Regions from separate parts of the Homo sapiens genome. Here region 1 is linked to region 2. The links are contacts of gene promoters, found by promoter capture Hi-C in blood cells and fetal thymus (Javierre and others, 2016). All regions are on one chromosome and are shown on one strand. The core of a region is centred on a gene start or on the middle of the fragment in contact, and the rest is flanking DNA. Distances in the headings are between cores, read along the strand shown. Region 1 overlaps AFAP1L2 (actin filament associated protein 1 like 2). Region 2 holds the start of ABLIM1 (actin binding LIM protein 1).

Region 1 (3,212 bases), core at 305-2,804, 260 kb before region 2:
ACCCTGCATCAGGGAAATTTCACTTCAAATATGCACAAAAACACTGCCTGCCTCTCTAACATCAATGCTTTCCCCCAACAAAACTAAGACAATTAGAACTAAGGATTGCACTGGCTATGAGTCTGTAATTCTTCCAGAAAACCCTGGAACAGGTGGAAGAGACCTGCCTTTGTGGGTGACTAGTGGCTTGGATGTGTTTGTGATTTTAAAAAGTTGCATGTGGGAAATTCTCCTGTATAATTCATGGTTGAACATGACCTCAGCCCATGTAGTCCTCACGGATGGAAGTTCCACAGCCTTCCAACAGGCTGTGCTTAATAGAGATGCAGACACAGACCCAGCTTCCCAGGGTACAGAGCCAGACAAAATTCACCTGAAGAACAGGCAAATTCAACATGGGCTTTGATTAAAAAACAAATAAATAAATAAAAAGGAAAACACCAAGATCTTAAGAGTCCATTCAGATCACCCAGAGTGATACTTCTTCCTTCTTGGGGACTTCCACATCCTGTCCGCTGGCCTGGTGCAGTGACGACTGGTAATTCTGCCCTTGCATCAGAAGGCTTCTCCTTGTCTAGAAATAAGAGGACTGATTCTTTACATCAAATGCGACTGGGTGTGTTATTTCGATAAATCATGGGTTCTTCCCCTCAAAATCAATCCTAGCTAGCATAGACAAGCAGGACTGCCAAAAACAAAAAGTCAACCAGGAAATAATTATCCTGCAGACTTGATTACTCAATTCTAATACAATAACTTTATTGGTAGAAAAAAAAGACTTGCAGACAGGCTGCCAAAGCCAGTACATTAGATCCATGTGTGGGTAGCAGCAGAGTTCCCAGGGTGGGAACCTGAGTCTAATGCTCTTATATTCCATGGTCCTCCTGGGCTTGTTGGCTGCCTGGCCTTTAGGGGAGCTGCTTTTGCCTTTTCTCTAAACAGAGGGAGAGCTTCCACTATCACACTGATTGTGCCTAATGAAAAAGTCTCTGGCATTTAGGATGTCATCAGGCATGAGCCCTTGGCCTTTTTGTTTTGTACCAAATTTCTCACCCTTTTCTGCTGCATACACCTCCAGAACCATTGCAGACACACCCACACCAAGACTCAGTTGCTAATTACAACCCATGATACCCAACCTTGACCTTGAACCTTCATCTTATACCACAGCATCACAACTGCTAGAGTGTTTTTAAAAGTCAGCTTTATTGAGGTTAATTTACACACAGAAAAAAAAAAAGCCCTTTTAACTACACAGTTCTGAATTGTGACAAGTATGTATGGCTGTGTAACCACTACCAAAATGAAGATACTGAACATCTCTATCATTCCAAAAATTTCCCTCACGCCCTTTGTGGCTCACGCCTTCCCCCAGTCCCAGTCCTGGCAACTACTGATCTGTTTCCCTATAGTTTTGCCTTTTCCAGAAAGTCATATAAATAGAATCATTCAGTGTGCAAGCTTTTGAATCTTGAATAGCAGTATGCTTCTTTCACTTAGCATACTGGTGTGTATCACTAGTGGTAAGTTACGATCTGCCAGTTTTTAAGCCTTGGACTTTCACTTTCTTGTCAAAGAGACAAAATAATTGGTTCCAGCTCATGTTTGCTATGGAGAAATCAAACTCTTGATTCAGAAACTTTTACTAAAGCTTAGGTCCGGTAATAGGGCAACTCACCATCTCAGTTTGCCCAGGACTAAGGGGATTCCTGGGACACCAGACTTTCAGTGGTAAAACCAGGAAAGTCCCAAGCAAGCCCGGAAGGCTGGTCATTCAATTTGGGAAAGCTACCTCCAAGGGTAGGACTGTACATTCACCCAGCTTGGATTCTTCCTGGTACACAGTGGTTGCTGTCTCTGAGCTAACAGCTGGCTAGCCTCTCTTGCTTTAATCTCCAGCAGAAGGCTGATTTGCAGTGTGCTGGGGCTGAGCTTCCGTACAAGCTCACCACAGTCCACCAGGACTGTATCTGCCTTTGAAGTCCTGGGAGGAGCTCCAGGAAGTGAGAAGAGAACTCAGGGGCCTGCTTAGAAAACAGCAGAACAGGATTTCTACTGGCATGGGTGCCTCTCCCCACTCCTCCCTAATACCAGACTCCCCTGAGAGATGTGAGATCCGTGTTCCCTGGCCTCACTGTGTTTTTGCATCAGTCCAATGCAACGCGTCCAGGGGGAGGCAGGCTCCTCCTGTTTTTCTACACATTCTCCCTTCTCCCCGCTCAATGCAGTTTGTGGTTAGTTTGTTTTTTGAAACTAACTGGGGAGAATATGAGAGTCGAGTGATAGAAAATTAGGAAAGGGCTCAAAGCTACTATTTGAATTTAAGGGTCTCTCCTATGTGGACTTAATGAGACATCAGAGAAAAGTCAGGCAGGGCTAGGATGTAGCTCTACACATAACAAATGAGCAGTTCGTCACCTATCTCTTTCTCCACTGACATGAAGAATACACAGATGCTATCTCTGAGAAGCTAGGATGCCTAGAGGCTGAGAAGCCCCAACTTATATCTCCCAACAGCATTGAAAAGCACACAGTGGGCAGAGCCCAGTGAACTGTGAAAAGGCAGGAACTGGTGGGATCAGAACCACATGCCAGAGGTTTCAGGGTATCTGCTCCCCTGCGTTAATTTAACATTCTCTTTCTCAAAGTCTTTACCAATAGCTCTTACAAGTTATTCCACCAAGTGGCCTGCAAGGTAGATTAGTAATCATTATTCTCACTCATACAGATGAGGAAACAAGGCTGAGAAAGATTAATTGACTTGCCCAAGGTCGCATAGCGAGTTAGTGGCAAAAGCCAGATTAGAATCCCGAGCCCCTGAGTGCCCAGGCCGGTGCCCAGCTCCTTGATCTCCCTCAACCATCCACCCAGAGCATGGGCAGAGCCAGGTCTGCACCCTCGGGAGCCCTGGAGGCCAGGTGAGCTGCTGCAGAGGGCACAGACAGGCTCATACTCACACGCAGAAACCTGCCGGATCCTTCTCTGTACCACCAGACAGCAACACCCCTGTGCTGGAATAGACAGAAATAAGGCTCAAGTCGGGAAAGCCAAGGGTGGCCACTGTGGGCTTTCATCTCCATTTCTGGAATCTGCCTTTGAGATTTTGCTTCATTTCTTTTTGTGAACCAGGTCTGTTCTCCAGAGCTAGAGCACGGGAGAATATGTGATCTCTTTGCCTGGAATTTGTTCATTTCCCCACTCCCCAATCATGT
Region 2 (3,169 bases), core at 552-3,051:
CATATCATATGTCCACATAAAAACCTGTATATGATGATCCTTTTGATGTGTTCACACACGCGTGTGTGAGGTGAGCCACCCTCGAACCTTGTTATGACATTGGCACATTACCCATCTGACACGAAAAAAGAAAAAAAAACCTTGTATATGGATATGCATAGAGGCATTATTCATAAAATCCAAAAGTTGGAAACATCCCAAATGTCCATCAGCTGGTGTAAGCAGAAACAAATTGTGGAATATCTATACGGTGAAATAGTATTTGGCCATAACAAGGAATAAAGTACTGACACGTGCTACAACATGGGTAAACCCTGAAAACATGCTAAGTGAAAGAAGCCATAAACGAAAGACCACAGATTATAAATTCCATTCACATGAAATATCCAGAATAGGGAAATCTAAGAGGCAGAAAGTAGATTTTGATTTCTTAAGGCTGAGAGATGGGGATGAAGAGGTTGGGGTGGGGAGGCGATAGCTAAAGGGTACAGGGTTTCTTTTTGAGGCAATGAAAATATATATGTAACATATCAGTTGCATACTAAAACTCGCTGAACTATAGACTTTAAATGGATGAATTTTACAGCATATGAATTATAACTCAATAAAGCTGTTGAAAGCTGATTGCAACAAAACAGAACATCTTAACTCCAGTACTTCAGCTAAACTGAATCCAATTCAACTCTGGCTGTCCAAGAATGACGAGGAATGCGTTATGCTTCCTGGCTTATTTGACTTAACTTCATACATTCGTAGGGACCATGGTTAATTGCCTTCTGCTTCCTGTACCAATTCTAGGTCTGACTTTGACAAGGTGTGAGCAGTTGGGTAGGTATCATCTTCATTAACAAAGGCACCATGATAACTTCAAAGTCTGAAAACTCCCAAGTGCAATAACTCTATCCTCAGAGTGGGCCTTCTCCACCTCTTTCCCAGGCAGAGGGATGAGTGACACGTTTTAATGAGCTTCACTGAAAAGAAGCCTCAACAAGTTCTCTCAATATTAAAACACTTTCTTTTTATTTTATTTCTTTTTTAGAACATTTCACAAGACGAGCCCTCCCTACACAGTGACACAATTTGGACCTCAACTTTACTTATCTTTTGCTAGCCTCCATCTCCCCCCTTGAATATTTCCTTTCCATTCATCCTTTGTCATATGAAATAATAACATCTACAGATAGAGATCTTTCTTTTCCATCATACTTCCTATTACTGACAATTATTCATACCAAGTTTGGAAAGAGATACATTTGTTACTGAAGATCATAAAATCCTGGACAAAAATATCCTTGGGATTTAGCTCCGTAGCTACACTTATGTTACATTCTCCATCTCTCCCACCCTCACCCCCATTAATTATATATTAAGGATAGTGTTTCCTTTGAAGAACACATTACAGAAGAATGATCTGGATAGTACTCTCTTAATTACGCCAATCACAAAACACAAAACCATGTCCAGAGAGGGTTATTTTACTTACCAAAAGGATCAACGCTGTTACATACACGCCCACGTGGGCAGTAGTCCTTGGGACAGAGATACAGCAAATGAGTGATAGTGGCACGCCTATGAGCGGTGAAGGAGGTCCCAGAGACCCTCCGGTCCTCAACAATCAGTCTCTTTCTGTTCGAGCCCCTGGCACTGGTTCTCTCAGATGAGGTGACTTTGCTTTTCTCAGAGCTGCACAATTTCCCCAGACACTTTAGACCAAGGAAGGCAGGCATCTTGGCATGGATTTCCAAGCAATGAGAAATGGGGAGTGGGGACCCAAGGAGCGGTGCTGCCCCACAATTCTCTCTGTTCCCCTGGCTCCTTACTGTCTCCTTTTCTCACTGCCCAGCAAAGAAGATTAAGGGAGATGTATTTAAGTGATTACCCTCAAGAGCTTAGGGCACCATATTCTCAGTCAGATGACTAGGTATAAAAACAGCCACTACCAGGAACTCGAGACTTTCAGTCTCAGACATGAATGCATATTTGAAAATCAGATTAATATCCAGAATAAGAGAAAGAATATAACTGCAATATCTAAAAGAATTCTCCTGCAAATACTCCTAGAATATTCAGTATCATCTGGTAAGAGTACTGAGAATAGGGCTAGGGATATATACACATATTTTATATAATCTAAAAATGTCTATCAGAAAAATCCCAGGGTAATAATTCCAAGTTTTCCAGTATTTCAGATCTCACAGGTGGAGGTGGGGAAGGCTCGATAAAGATCCTCAGCTTCAATTCGTGACAAATCCAGCTCTCAGCCATAGTAAACGATCATTTCCTTTCCATTTTCTAGAAGGGGACCCCTCCCCTCAGTACCAGGAAAATCCTTCTGCCTCATTCCATTAAGCCAATGTTTACTGTCGTAATGTTTCATGGGTTTTCTGTGATGGCAGAATCATATGATGGAGACAGAATTAACATGTAGGTAGCTTCAGCTTTACACAAAGTTACAAGCTAGAAGGACCTTCATGGAATTAGTGTATTGATATAAAAAGGACAACCCCAGTAATTATCATTTACTCTTTAACATCCACACAGTAAGATGCAGTACAAAATGTGACCGTCTACAACCATACAAAAGTCCCAAGTCAAAATGAATAAACTCACACTCCTTCTCCTGTCATTGGGCTATTATGTTCTAATATAAATTCCTTTTCATTAAAACCCTAGAATAGAATTATAGAGCTGACAAGGCCATCAAAGGTAATCTAGTCCAGTAGTTCCCAAATATTGCTGTGCATAAGAACCATCTGCAGGTGCGGTTGCTCACGTCTGTAATCCTAGCACTTTGGGAGGCTGAGGTGGGAGGATTGCTTGAGGCCACTTCGAGACCAGCCCTGGCAACATAGCAAGACTCTGTCTCTACAGAAAAAAAAAAAAAAATTAAAACATTGGCCAAGTGTGGTGTCATGCATCTGTAGTCCCAGCTACTCGGGAGGCTGAGGCAGGAGGATTGGTTGAGTCCAGGAGTTTGAGGTTACAGTGAGCTATGATTGTGCCACTGTACTCCTAGGTGACCGGGCAAGACTCTGTCTCAAAACAAAAAATCTGTAGAACTTTTGAAAAATACAAAATATATATATACGGGATTCTTGCACGTAAAGGTCAGGAACTTACATTTCTTTTCTTTTTTTATACTTTAAGTTCTAGGATACATGTGCACAAT

Evidence for each region. The method cuts DNA at HindIII sites, captures the fragments that hold promoters and counts their contacts. A CHiCAGO score of 5 or more calls a contact.
Region 1: a fragment that was not itself captured here is called in contact with the fragment with the promoter of ABLIM1 in region 2 in 1 of 17 cell types (non-activated CD4 T cells); the score reaches 6.3 in non-activated CD4 T cells.

What each region holds. Positions count from the first base shown.
Region 1 is chr10:114,395,894-114,399,105 of GRCh38, forward strand. The region is part of intron 1 of AFAP1L2 (actin filament associated protein 1 like 2); the gene reads right to left. Among named protein-coding and RNA genes, the nearest start is that of AFAP1L2, 7.0 kb to the right of the region's middle. The HindIII fragment of the contact is 190 bases long and covers 1,460-1,649 here.
Region 2 is chr10:114,656,474-114,659,642 of GRCh38, forward strand. It overlaps ABLIM1 (actin binding LIM protein 1), which reads right to left and starts at 1,802. Exons shown (of 23, transcript NM_002313.7): 1 at 1,484-1,802. The coding sequence starts at 1,727. LOC124902588 (small nucleolar RNA U13) reads left to right here and starts at 22; the gene lies at 22-121. The HindIII fragment of the contact is 14,035 bases long and covers 1-3,169 here.